3 separate regions of the Homo sapiens genome follow, and all the other regions are linked to region 2. The links are contacts of gene promoters, found by promoter capture Hi-C in human tissues and cell types (Jung and others, 2019). All regions are on one chromosome and are shown on one strand. Each heading gives the region's core, a stretch centred on a gene start or on the middle of the fragment in contact. The rest is flanking DNA. Distances are from core to core; before and after follow the strand shown.

Region 1 (4,345 bases), core at 1,435-3,934, 340 kb before region 2:
TGGTGACTGTAACTCAGACTCTTAGCTATTTCTCATTCATTATGCATTTGGCTTTTTATCTCTAATGTAAGTGCATTGGACATGGGGCAGTTTTTACATACCTTTCTCTGGTGTAAAGGTGAATCTTTATGCATCTTATAAGCAGGTGAATACAATAAGTTTTCATCTAGTTAGATTATTTTGTTGCTAGGCTCAGAACACTGACCATTTAGAAGGAGTACAGAGAATATTGGTTCATATTTTTGCAGGTACCTATTTATGATTGTACTGTGAAAAGTAATATGCTCTATGTATACAATTTATTTCCTTAATGATCACTGATTAGCACTTTTATAAACTCATTTAAGCAAGAGCTTAAGTGGTAACTAATTTTTTAAACATTTTATCGTATGAATGATTATACAGAGTAGACCAGACACAAAAACTATTCACCCTTGCTTATCTTTTCAACTTCATCTTTCAACATTCCTGACCTCTAAATGTAGGGTACAACCACACTAGTATACAGTAATTCCTTTCAAGCCTCTGGCCACTGGCTAATTTCCCTTTCCAGAAACTCCCTCACTATTATCATTACCACCATTTGGTCGGGCGTGGTGGCTCATGCCTGTAATCCCAGCACTTTGGGAGGCCAAGGTGGGCAGATCACCTGGGGTCAGGAGTTCGAGACCACCCTGGCCAACATGATGAAACCCCGTCTCTACTAAAAATACAAAAAAAAAAAAATAGTCAGGTGTGGTGGCATGCGCCTGTAGTCCCAGCTACTTAGGAGACTTTGCTTGAACTTGGGAGGTGGAGGTTGCAGTGAGCTGAGATCGCACCACTGCACTCCAGCCTGGGCAACAAGAGTGAAAACTCTGTCAAAAAAAAAAAAAAATCCATACTCTTTGCCTATTTCACTCTTTCACTCCTACTCTTCCCTAAAAATTCAGTTCAGGCACCCCCATTTCTGGAAAACTTTGCACAGTGTGAATTAGATTCCTTTGTTATATACTCACAGTATTCTCTTACCTTTTCTGCCTAGAGGGCAGGGACTGTGTCTTGATGTTGACAATTTCTGATTGCCTTACCTATTATCTGTTTTCTCCTCATCAGGACCCTCAGTTTTTAGCTGGGAAATAGATGCCTGGAATAAAGAATACATTTCCCAGCCTACCTTGTTGCCACTTGGTTATATGGCTAAGTTGTGATCAATTAGATGTTGATCAAAGCAGAAGTACAGTAGTTTCTGGAAATTTTCCTTAAAAGGTAGCTATCATACCTTTTATGCCTTCTTCCTTCCTTCCTCCATCCTGTTTCCCTAGAACATAGATGAGATCACTGAAGCTCCATTTTGGAGCATGAGGATGAGGGTTCAACCCTAGGGATGGTGGAGTAGAAAACTGGAAGCTGCCGGGTTCGGTTGATCACACCTGTAATCCCAGCACTTTGGGAAGCTGAGGTGGGTGGATCATTTGAGCTCAGGAGTTCCAGACCAGCCTGGGCAACAAGGCGAAACCCTGTCTCTACAAAAATACAAAAATTAGCTGGGCATGGTGGTGCATGCCTGTAGTCCCAGCTACTCTGGAGACCAAGGTGGGAGTTTTGTTGGAACCCCAGAGGTGGAGGTTGCAGTGAGCCCATATTGCACCACTGCACTACATCCAGCCTGGGCAATAGAATGAGATGCTGTAAAAAAAAAAAAAAAAAAAAAAAAAAAAGAAAAGAAAAGAAAGAAGAAAAGAAAAGAAAGAGAAAAAAAAACAACAACTGGAAGCTTGTCACTTGTCACTGAATTCCAGGCAACTGTGGAGCCTTCTCACCAGCCTTGGTCTTCTCCATCTGGATTTTTACATTAGAGAGAAATAAACTTCTATATTATTTAAGCCACTGTGTTTTGTGTCTCTGTTAGAGATGTTGCTAATTCTAACTCATACTCTTAGCTGTGTGTGTGTGCGTGCGTGCGTGTGTGTGTGTGTGTGTGTGTGTGTGTGTTTAATTGCTAAAGCCTGGCAAAGTACCTGGAACACAGTAGGAACTCAAGAAATGTTAACTAAGCCAAGTAGTTATTAACTGTATCAGGGTACATTATGTAAATTTTGTGAAAATGTCACAAATATTTTAGAACTTACATACCTTTCCAAGGCCTCAGAAAACAAAATACTACATCCTGTCGGGAGGGCAGATGGTAGTTGTGGGATAGAAAGCCAGTAGTGTTGAGATAAAGGATAAGGACTGAACAAAAGTTGAAGTTAGTTACTAAATCAGGCATGGCCTGCTGGGTAGTCAACAGACCATTTTGTGCATCTGAAGAAATGAATTAATTTTGCTGGCATGGTACTTAAGCAAAATACAATTTTAAAGAGAGAGAGAAACAAGTTCATTCGGTGCTAGACTTAGAGAGAAAAATGAACTTATGTTGTTCTGGTTGCTGAGAGAAAAATCAGTCAACAATCAGGCATTGTGGTGTTGAAATCACCAAGTATTGCACAGTACTCTTAGGGGTGGGCCAGGATGGTCACACTCCTAAAGGGAAGTGAGAGGGGAGAGGAATCAGCACTTCCTCATGGTGAAGAGATGGCATCCCTGCCTGCAGGAAAAAAATTGTATCTGGGGGCAGCAGAAACAAGCATGTGCCAGAGGGTCTGGGTCCAGTGTTTGTTTTTTGTTGTTGTGTGGTGGTGGTGGTGGTTTGTATTTCCCTGCATGTGGGTGTGCCCACATGCATCAGGTGTTAACCAAAAAAATCTGACGTTATCAATTGACTCTCCTTTTAATCTAGTTCTATATACTGCAAGCATATTTGTATAGGCATATTCCTGTGACCATTAACCCTTTTACATATGAAGAAAGATTATGAAAAATGTTCAGGATAGATTAAGGTTTTTATTGCATTTTTCAAAAAGAAGATTGTAAAAAGAGAAAGCTGACCACCAACATATGAATGGATAAATTGTGCTATCTACATACAATAGAATATTATTCAGCCATGAGGAATGAAGTACTGACATATGCCATAATGTGGATGACCTTGAAAACATTATGCTCAATAAAGGAAGCCAGACACAAAGGCCCCACTGGCTACACATTTATATGAAAATTTCCAGAATAGGTAAATCCATAGAGATCTTAGAAAGCACATTGGCATTGCCAGGGCCCAGGGGAAGAAATGAATAGGGGTACAGGGTCTCCTTGTGTAGTGATAAAAATGTCTTGGAACTAGATAGAGTTAATGGTTGCACAACACTGTGAATGTATTAAGTGCCCCTGAATTGTTCACTTCCAAATGGTTAATTTTATGTTATATGAATTTTACCTCAATAAAAAGAAACAGTCATTTTTTGTTAATTAACAGAAACTCCATGTGTGTACAAAGAAAAAGTTCTAGAAAGTATGTTAACAGCACTCATGTCTAGTTGATAGAATTATAAACAAGTTTAATTTCAATTTTTTTCCACATTTGTTTCCAATTTTTCTGCACTGAATATATATGAGTTGCTTTTATATTGGGAAAACAATGATTTTAAATTTTTAAACAAAAGATGGCCTTTCTTTAAGTCTATGAAGAAGTTTAAGAAACTAGGAAATCATGCTCAGATTAACATTATGTATTCCATATCAGTTGCAAAATTAAATTTTAAATGAAGATATAAAGTTTTATGGAGTATATTTCATTATTTTTAAAACACAATAATTTGTCCACACTTATATGTAAAATTTCAAATGCAAATGCAAAAGACATGTTTAAATTTGTTTAAAAGACAGGCATTGCAGAGGGTTCCTAAACAAGTCTATGGGCCTGCTGGGCCTTTGATCTTGGAGTGGATGATGACTTCCATAGCTCTACAACAGTGTCAGTAGGCCTACAACCTCAAAATCTCACCACCTTTGAAAAGCAGTTGGTAAGGAGCCAGTAGTCTTTCTGGTAAACAGAGTCCATGAACCCCACCGTATTAACAGTTTCTTTTGCCTAGAGGTCTTTCTCCCTTCCCCTCTTCAAACACGGCTCCACCCCAATTCAACATTGTCTTCAAAGCCCAGCTTTAAAATCACCTAGGTAAAACCTTTCCTCCCAATGATGTTAAATAAATTTATCCCACCCTCTGTTCCCCTAAATCTTTGTGTCTTCACTATGAGATTTATCTTATTACTTATATCACAATATACTTTTTCAGTGAGTTAGCAGCACAACTCCCATGCAAATATAAAATGAAATTATGCCAAAGATTTTGTTCAACTCATTCCTTGATTAAGAAACCAGTAAGATGTTAAAATAGTTCAAATAAGAATTTGACTTATGGAGATTTATATCTTCTACCTGACAGTTCATTTGCATTGCTTATGAAAATGAGTTAGTTATATTGCT
Region 2 (4,314 bases), core at 226-2,725:
ACGCACGACCACACCTGGCTAACAGTTTGTATTTTTAGTAGAGACAGGGTTTCACCATGTTGCCCAGGCTGGTCTTCAACTCCTGAGCTCAGGCAAATCCGCCTGCCGGAACCAGGAATGTTTACAGTAGCACTATTCAAACAACCCAATGTCCATCAACAGATAAATGGATTAACAAATTTAGGGTGTGCACATTCAATGGAATATTATTAAATCATTAAAAATGAATAAAGTACTGATATGTGCTACAATGCCTTGAAGACATTATGCTAAGTAAAAGAAACCAGACACAAAAGACCACAATGCATGATTCAATTTATATGAAATTCCCAGAACAGATAAGTACAGAAACAATAGCAGACAGGGGTTGGAGGAAGGAGCATATGAGGAGTAAGTGCTTTATGAACAGTGTTTTATTTGGGGGTGATGAAAATAACAACTAGATATATGTTGTCTACAAGAGACTCACTTTACTTGGAGCCTAGAGGGTTGCAAGAATTCTGAACTTGGTCTTGGGTTCTCACTTCAAATAGCTCCTATTCATATTTCAAGTGCCCGTAGTCTCAACTACTTGGAGGCTGAGGCAGAAGGATGGCTTGAGCCCAGAAGTTCAAGGCCAACCTGAGCAACACAGTGAGACCCTGTCTCTAAAAAAGTAAACTTTAAAAAAACACCCACAATCCTGTGCCAGAAATAACTTCCAAGCAGCATGCACATACACTAATTCATTCATTTCATCAACAAATCCTTCATTCCTCCTCTCTGTACACAGACCCCATGCACTCCCCAATCTAACATCACAGACTCCGGAAATTCTGGAGTTTCTGCACAAGCTCTTAGAGAACACATTCTCTCCTATGTGAAACATCTATCTGTAACCCCATCCCATTATCCGTCCCAGACTCGTCATCCAGACATCTCAAGCTCCCTATCACACCATGCTCTGGTTTCATTCAAGACGGCATTCTGAGGCCCTCTGTAAATTCGCCCACCCCATCCCATATTCCTGCATTCATTTCCATTCATTCAAAAACAGCCCTTACTCTACGCTGGCCTGTGCAAGGCAAGGCGGAACAGGACTCCAACGTTCCTACCCGCGCTGCGCAGGCTCGCCTGCACTTCCACCCATGCCCCGCGCCCCTTTCGCTCCACAAGCTCCCAGGAACCGTCTGCTCCACCGACACCCAGAGCCTCGAGGCGCAGACTGTCTGACTCTCCATCCTGCCCGCCGGAGGAGGATGGCACCTCCGGGAGTGCAGGGGGCGCTGAGGCAGGAGTGGAGGAAACGCCACCTCTTGCCCGCGGCGCTGGAGCCTCCACGGTTGTCCGGCTCCCACAGCGGAAGGCCTGCCACGCACCCATCCTCCGAAGACCAGCGAACCCACCTTTACGCTCAGCTTCGCTGTCGGCGTCGCTCCCGAAGAGATCCTCCATATCCGCCATTATCGCTCACGTCCGCTGCTGCCTCGGTTAGGGGCAGCTCCCGGCCTCTCTTTACGGCACGGAACCACTGAAACACGACAGTGTCGCAAAGATTCGCCGAAGACACTCCTTTCCTTACGTGACCTAGTTTTCGCTCGCCCAGTGAACCTGTTCTCGCCTGGGTATGCATGGTATATAAGCCCGGCCATTTCGTCAATATCTGTTATTTGCCAGGATTCTTACCAGGGGGCGGGGGGGTCCTGCGTTCGGTTGCGGGTGTGGATGGGGTGGGCGGTGACTGGCGCTCTCTGGGGAAGGGCCTCTGGCTGGATTAAACCTATCGCGAGTCAGGATTGAAGCCCTTTGTTTCTTACTGAGCAGCTGTTCTCCAGTTATTTCATCCCAAACCCCTTTACCCTCTTAAAAATTGTTGAGACGGAGTCTCGCTCAGTCGCCCAGGCTGGAGTGCAGTGGCGCGATCTCGGCTCACAGCAACCTCCACTGTCCGGGTTCAAGCAATTCTAATTCCTCAGCCTCCCGAGTAGCTGGGACGACAGGCGCCCGCCACCACACCCGGCTAATTTTTTGTATTTTAGTAGACACGGGGTTTCACCGTGTTGCCCAGGCTGGTCGCAAACTCAGGAGCTCAGGCAATCCGCCCGCCTCGGCCTCCCAAAGTGCTGGGATTACAGGTACGGGTATTGATATTTACTGTATTCTTACTAATACGGTAATAAATTTTTAAGTTACTAATTCATTTAAAAATAATATACATGTTAACAAACAGCTTTTTTAAGCTTTAAATGACCATTTTTTTGGCCGGGCGCGGTCGCTCACGCCTGTAATCCCAGCACTTTGGGAGGCCGAGGCGGGTGGATCACGAGGTCAGGAGATCGAGACCATCCTGGCTAACACGGTGAAACCCCGTCTCTACTAAAATAAAAAAAATTAGCCGGGCGTGGTTGTGGGCGCCTGTCGTCCCAGCTACTAGGGAGGATGAGGCAGGAGAATGGCGTGAACCCAGGAGGCGGAGCTTGCAGTGAGCCGAGATCGCGCCACTGCACTCCAGCCTGGGCACGAGACTCCATCTCAAAAAAATAATAATAATAAAATAAAATAATTAAAAATAAAAACATTAGCCAGGCATGATGGCATGCATTTGTAGCCCTAGCTACTCAGGAAACTGAGAATGGAGGATCACTTGAGCCCAGGAGTTGGAGGCTGCAGTGAGCTATGATCACGCCACTTCACTCTAGCCTGAGTGACAGAGTAAGGCTCTGTTTCTTAGAAGAAAAAGTGAGAAAAGAGTACATCCTGTGTTACATTACCTAATTAGGCCATTATGAGAGTTTTGGTCTTGGACAAGCAACAATGAATATTTAGTTTGGAGATTATATGATATATATTTTTGTAGTAAACTTCAGTGCTTAACAGGGTCCAAATGGGTGGGACTGGGTATGTAATCATCAATCCTAGAGCTTTTGTGTATGAAGCGGATGTTGCAAGAGAAGATACATAGATAACCTGAAAACTATCTGGAATACTGGAAAAACAAGTATTCCATTTGACAGTGATTCAGTTTCATTTTCATTTAGAGTACTGTCCCTGAAAAGTACTTTGATTAAATTTATTTTCTTTTGATACAGTGTCTCTGTTGCCTAGGCTGGAGCGCAGTGGCGCCATCATAGCTCACTGCAGCCTCAAACTCCTGGCCTCAAGAGGTCCTCCTGCCTCGGCCTCCTAACACGTTGGGATTACAAGTATGGGCCACAGTGCCTGGCTAAATCTTAATAAATTGAATTACAGTTTGGTCTGGTGAGTCACCATGTCCATATTCCTGGCTATCAGAATAAACGTGTTTTTCCCATATGAATAGTATAAAACAAATCACTTCTGACTCTTGGACAGATTTTTTTGTTTATGTTTTGGCTACACTTTTTTTTTTTAAACAGAGTTTCGCTCTTGTTGCCCAGGCTGGAGTACAATGGCGTGATCTCAGCTCACTGCAACCTCCACCTCCCGGGTTCGAGTGATTCTCCTGCCTCAGCCTTCTGAGTAGCTGGGATTACAGGCATGCGCCACCATATCCGGTTAATTTTGTATTTTTAGTAGAGATGGGATTTCATCATGTTAGTCAGGCTGGTCTCAAACTCCTGACCTCAGGTGATCCACCCGCCTTGGCCTCCCAAAGTGATGGAATTACAGGCCTGAGCCACCGTGCCCAGCCTTGTTTTGGTTACACTTTATGCTGACCATTGCTCTTCTACTCATTATCTTTCTTCATAAAGGATATAATACATGAGATTGGACTTAAGGTAAATCAATCACAATCATTTTGCAGTATTTCTTACCTGAGGTTATCACTTTGATTGAAGTTTATTTTATTTTTAATACTTTTTTAAAAACTTAAAAAAATATATAGAAACAAGGTCTCACTATGTTGCCTAGACTGGTCTTGAATTCCTGGCCTCAAGTGATCCTCGTGTCTTGGCCTCCAAAAGTGTTGGAATTACAGGTGTAAGCCACTACACCCAGTTTGATTAAAGTTTACAGTGCTAAATAACTTCATTTACCCCCAGAGATGGAGAATTTAATCCTATTTGGTTTGTGTTCAACTAATTTAACTTTGAATGTTAAGATGATCTTGACAGGCCGGGCACGGTGGCTCACCCCTGTAATCCCAGCACTTTGGGAGGCCGAGGCAGGTGGATCACAAGGTCAGGAGATCGAGACCATCCTGGCTAACACAGTGACCCCGTCTCTACTAAAAATATTTAAAAAAAAGTTAGCAGGGCATGGTGACGGGCACCTGTAGTCCCAGCTACTGGGGAGGCTGAGGCAGGAGAATGGCATGAACCCAGGAGGCGGAGCTTGCAGTGAGCTGAGATCACG
Region 3 (4,463 bases), core at 111-2,610, 470 kb after region 2:
CCTGGCCATCATAGTTAACATACAAATCCCTTACCATGTTCTACAAGGGCCTTCATGACCTGTCCTTTCCTTCCCCTGCCAACCTCTAAGCCGGCACTATGCAGATCTTATTTTAGTTCTTCAGGAACACAGTTTTGTTTGCTCCTGTCTCTAGACCCTGGCTCTTGTTAAGCCCTCTATAATGTACTTCTCCCAGATCTGCTTATGTCTGCCTCCTTCTCACTTATATGATAGCTCAAATGTAAACCTCTTCAGAGAGGCCTTCCCAGACCTTTCTAGCGGAAATCAATCCAAACTACTATTACCATTCTCTATTTTACATTCTTCAGCACTCTTATTCACTATCTGAAATCACCTGCTGTTATGTTCTTGTTTGTTTACTTATTTACTATCTCTCTTCCTTCATTAGAACATAAGTTCTGTGTCTGTGTTGTTCAACACAGCAGGCAGTACTTAGAACAGTACCTGACACAGAGCTGGTGCTTAGTAAGAACTTATCGAAAGAAGATCAGAATAAAAGGCATCTCTTTAAATTGAATATAAGTAGCATGATTAAAAGCTCGCTCAATTGCTTTAATTTTCTCTTATTATTACCAACACATACAAACTTTTAATCTAAACAGTTTGCAGAGGAAAGAGTATGGAATTAGACTATGGGTTCTACTCCCAGGGCCACCAGATGGGCCTTGGCCTTTATTTCAGGCAACAATAAAATGAGGATGACAACAATAGTCTTCTAGTTTATTGCAAAGGCTTACGCACATAGAAACTTCATGAAAAGTATAAACCAATATATAAGTACAAGGTGGGGTTGTTACTGTTTTTCCCATAGGAAGTGATTTCTAATGTCATATATCAAACATGTTACTGAAATTTGTTTTACAACTTTTTTCCCAGGGACACAGTCCATAAACTGAGTAATATCTGTACATATCACTAAAGCCTTACTCATGTAATAAATATTTCTATGTACTAACTGCTCCCACTCTGAAGCTTACTTTACAAAGACAGCACTTTTGTAGCTTTCTCTGGAAGGCACTACTGGTTCCAGAAAAGATATATAAATATAAAGAGATTAAGAGTCGGGCTGGGCACAGTGGCTCATGCCTGTAATCCCAGCTCTTTGGGAGGCTTAGGCAGGCGGATCACTTGAGCTCAGGAGTTAGAGACCAGCCTGACCAACATGGTGAAACCCCGCCTCTACTAAAAATACAAAAATTAGCCAGGCATGGTGGTTCGTGCCTGTAACCCCAGCTACTCAGGAGGCTGAGGTGGGAGGATTACTTGAGCCCAGGAGGTGGAGGTTGCAGTGAGCTAAGATCAAGTCACTGCACTCCAGCCTGGGCAACAGAGCAAGACTCCATCTCAAAAAAAAAAAAAAAAAAAAAAGAGAGAGAGATATTCAGAATCATGAAATGACCTATCACCTTGACTGATGAAAACACAAAAAAGGAAAATGTGTCCAAGTGAGTTTGTAGAAGCATGACTGACCAGTGCCTAAACATGAGGAGACTTTAAATCTAGAAAGTGCCTTCATGTTCTGTGTTAGTAGGGAGCTCCAGCTCAGATTTCCACAAGTATTTTGCAAAAAGTAGATACTTTGCCAAAGACCAGATTTCCAAGGGCTAGATGTTAACAACACTTACAGATAAGCAGTGGGAGGATAAGGCCCTCATATTCACCAAAAGCAAGATATTTAAACACTGAACACCACCCTGATAACCAATTTCCTCTTTATCTTAGCTTTACCTCTGAGGAAAGCATCCAAGGAGAAATAGGTCAGAAACCATTCTATTATTACCATTGCCTTTCTGTGGTTCTTTTCCATCTTAACCAATGAGATCAGTGACTCTGCAGAAACAACTATGCCAGAAGGGGGTCAGTTTGAGGATATATACCTTAGATGCTGAAACAGGGAAATCTCAACCTGATATGCCACTTCCTACTGCTTTCATCACTTCCAACCCTGCCTCCCCCAGGCCGCAAAGCAAATACACATGGCAGGAATAGAACTAAACTTGTCCAGTCACATCCGGTGAGAAGACTGGGGGAAGGCAGGCAAGAAGACAAGGCCACTGGAACGCATGAGGAACCTAGAAATGGGACACAGTGTGAGTCGGGCAGGAATCAGAAACAAGGATAGACACTGCCTACTTAGTCTGCAGAAGGCCCTCCTGGTGAAAAAGAAGCAGTTAGAAAACAATAACCCTGGCCAAAGTGAATCAAACTGGACACAGCCCCAGCAAGGCAAGGGAAAGCCCCTGTTGAGAGACAGGACTAGCTGGATTTCCTAGGCAGACTAAGAATCCCTAAGCCTAGCTGGGAAGGTGACCACGTCCACCTTTAAAGATGGGGCTTGCAACTTAGCTCACACCCGAGCCATCAGAGAGCTCACTAAAATGCTAATTAGGCAAAAACAGGAGGTAAAGAAATAGCTAATCATCTATCGCCTAAGAGCACAGCGGGAGGGACAATGATCGGGATATAAACCCAGGCATTCCAGCCGGCAACGGCTACCCTCTTTGGGTCCCCTCCCTTTGTATGGGAGCTCTGTCTTCACTCTATTAAATCTTGCAACTGCACTTTCTTTTGGTCTGTGTTTGTTACGGCTCGAGCTGAGCTTTCGCTCGCCGTCCACCACTGCTGTTTGCCACTGTTACAGACCTGTGGCTGACTTCCACAGGGTGGATCCAGCAGGGTGTCTGCTGTACTCCTGATCCAGCTAGGCGCCCACTGCTGCTCCCGATAGGGCTACAGGCTTGCCATCGTTCCTGCATGGCTAAGTGCCCGGGTTCGTCCTAATCGAGCTGAACACTAGTCAGTCACTGGGTTCCACAGTTCTCTTCCGTGACCCACGGCTTCTAATAGAGCTATAACACTCACCGCATGGCCCAAGATTCCATTCCTTGGAATCCGTGAGGCCAAGAACCCCAGGTCAGAGAACATGAGGCTTGCCACCATCTTGGAAGTGGCCCGCCGCCATTTTGGAAGTGGCCTGCCACCATCTTGGGAGCTCTGGGAGCAAGGACGACCCGGTAACACTGTCATGTAGCTGGATTCTGTCATGATTAGCTAACAAAGGGTTAGGCTCTCTTTCAGTGATCCCCGTTTCCTCTTCTCCACTCACACTACTCTAGATCTAGTCCCTCATTATCTTGTGAGAGTCTCTCAAACATCTCACTTATGCTACCTGAAACCTTATTTTAGTTATTTATGAATCTACCTACCTTCCATACCAGACTATATACTCTTTCAAAGCCATCTTTGAATCCCCTTTGAGGTCAGCCAAGTTCCTGGCCCATAGTTTGTGGGCAGCACATATATGTTGATTTTATTTAAGACTGAGATAAGGTAAGGCAAGGAAAAGAGGTGAGAAAAATTGGCAACATTCCACAGGCTTAGCTCAGGATTTTCCATGAAGCCATACCAGAGTTTGAGGCCACCAAGCAGGGTTGAGATGGGGCATGAATCAGAGGCTTAAAGAAGAGAGACTCATGAAGTAGTAGGTAAAGAAAAAGTAAATAATGATGTAGAAACTGGTAGGAGAAGGAAAAAGAAGAGCCTGAGATTTGAGGTATTGGGATTAAAGAAAAAACCTAGGGAGGGAGAAATGAGAAAATAAACCTAAACTACATAAAATGTAAACACACATCAAAGATTTGTGACAATTCAAATGAACCACTTGACAAAAAATCAGGATGAGAATAAAATGAAGACGGACTAAATTTTATAATAGCTAAAATCTGAGAAAATAATGCTAGCACAGATTTAACCTGCATAATAGCTTGCAAGGAAAATAAAAGACATCTGTCCTTCCACAATACAATTTAATGAGGCCTGCCTGGCAGCAATGAGGTAATTTTGACAGAGTCTAAAAGAAGAGCACTAGAAAGGCACGTTCAAGGGACATGCTGGCACTGGAACATGCCAGAGAGAGGCACCAAGCAGTGTTGGCTCACCCAGCACTGCCCTTGCACCTCCTTGGGGGTTACACCCAGCCTTGCATGTTTAAGGAGGCACCAGCCATCTTTTTTTTTTCTTTTTCTTTTTTTTTTTCTGAGATGGAGTCTCGCTCTGTTGCCCAGGCTGGAGTGCAGTGGCACAATCTCTGCTCACTGCTACCTTTGCCTCCCAGGTTCAAGCGATTCTCCTGCCTCAGCCTCCCAAGTAGCCGAGATTACAGGCATGCACCACAACACCTGGCTAATTTTTATATTATTAGTAGAGACGGGGCTTCGCCATGTTGGCCAGGCTGGTCTTGAACCCCTGACCTCAGGTGATCTGCCCACCTCGGCCTCTCAAAGTGCTAGGATTAAAGGCATGAGTCACCGCACCTGGCCCACCAGTCATCTTTCTTTTGGTATCTTACCATGATGACAACACTGAAGAGGCCCTTGATTGATGCAGATGACTCACTGGAAGTTTTGCTAACTTGTGTTTTGTCTGTCAAGGAACACTGAGGG

What was found. The method cuts DNA at HindIII sites, captures the fragments that hold promoters and counts their contacts. A contact is called where the count stands out against the background at its distance.
Region 1: a contact is called between a fragment that was not itself captured here and the fragment with the promoter of LEO1 in region 2, in 1 of the 25 tissues and cell types used here (aorta).
Region 3: a contact is called between a fragment that was not itself captured here and the fragment with the promoter of LEO1 in region 2, in 1 of the 25 tissues and cell types used here (dorsolateral prefrontal cortex).

The regions. Positions count from the first base shown.
Region 1 is chr15:51,627,326-51,631,670 of GRCh38, forward strand. The region is part of intron 3 of LOC105370816 (a long non-coding RNA gene); the gene reads right to left. Among named protein-coding and RNA genes, the nearest start is that of DMXL2, 6.7 kb to the left of the region's middle. The HindIII fragment of the contact is 4,382 bases long and covers 494-4,345 here.
Region 2 is chr15:51,970,303-51,974,616 of GRCh38, forward strand. LEO1 (LEO1 component of Paf1/RNA polymerase II complex) reads right to left here and starts at 1,476. Exons shown (of 12, transcript NM_138792.4): 1 at 1,386-1,476. The coding sequence starts at 1,443. It also overlaps a transcript of MAPK6 not described here. RefSeq lists enhancers at 593-1,169, 993-1,522, 1,170-1,745. The HindIII fragment of the contact is 14,890 bases long and covers 1-4,314 here.
Region 3 is chr15:52,436,228-52,440,690 of GRCh38, forward strand. All of the region lies in intron 1 of MYO5A (myosin VA), which reads right to left. Among named protein-coding and RNA genes, the nearest start is that of MYO5A, 90 kb to the right of the region's middle. The HindIII fragment of the contact is 8,386 bases long and covers 1-4,463 here.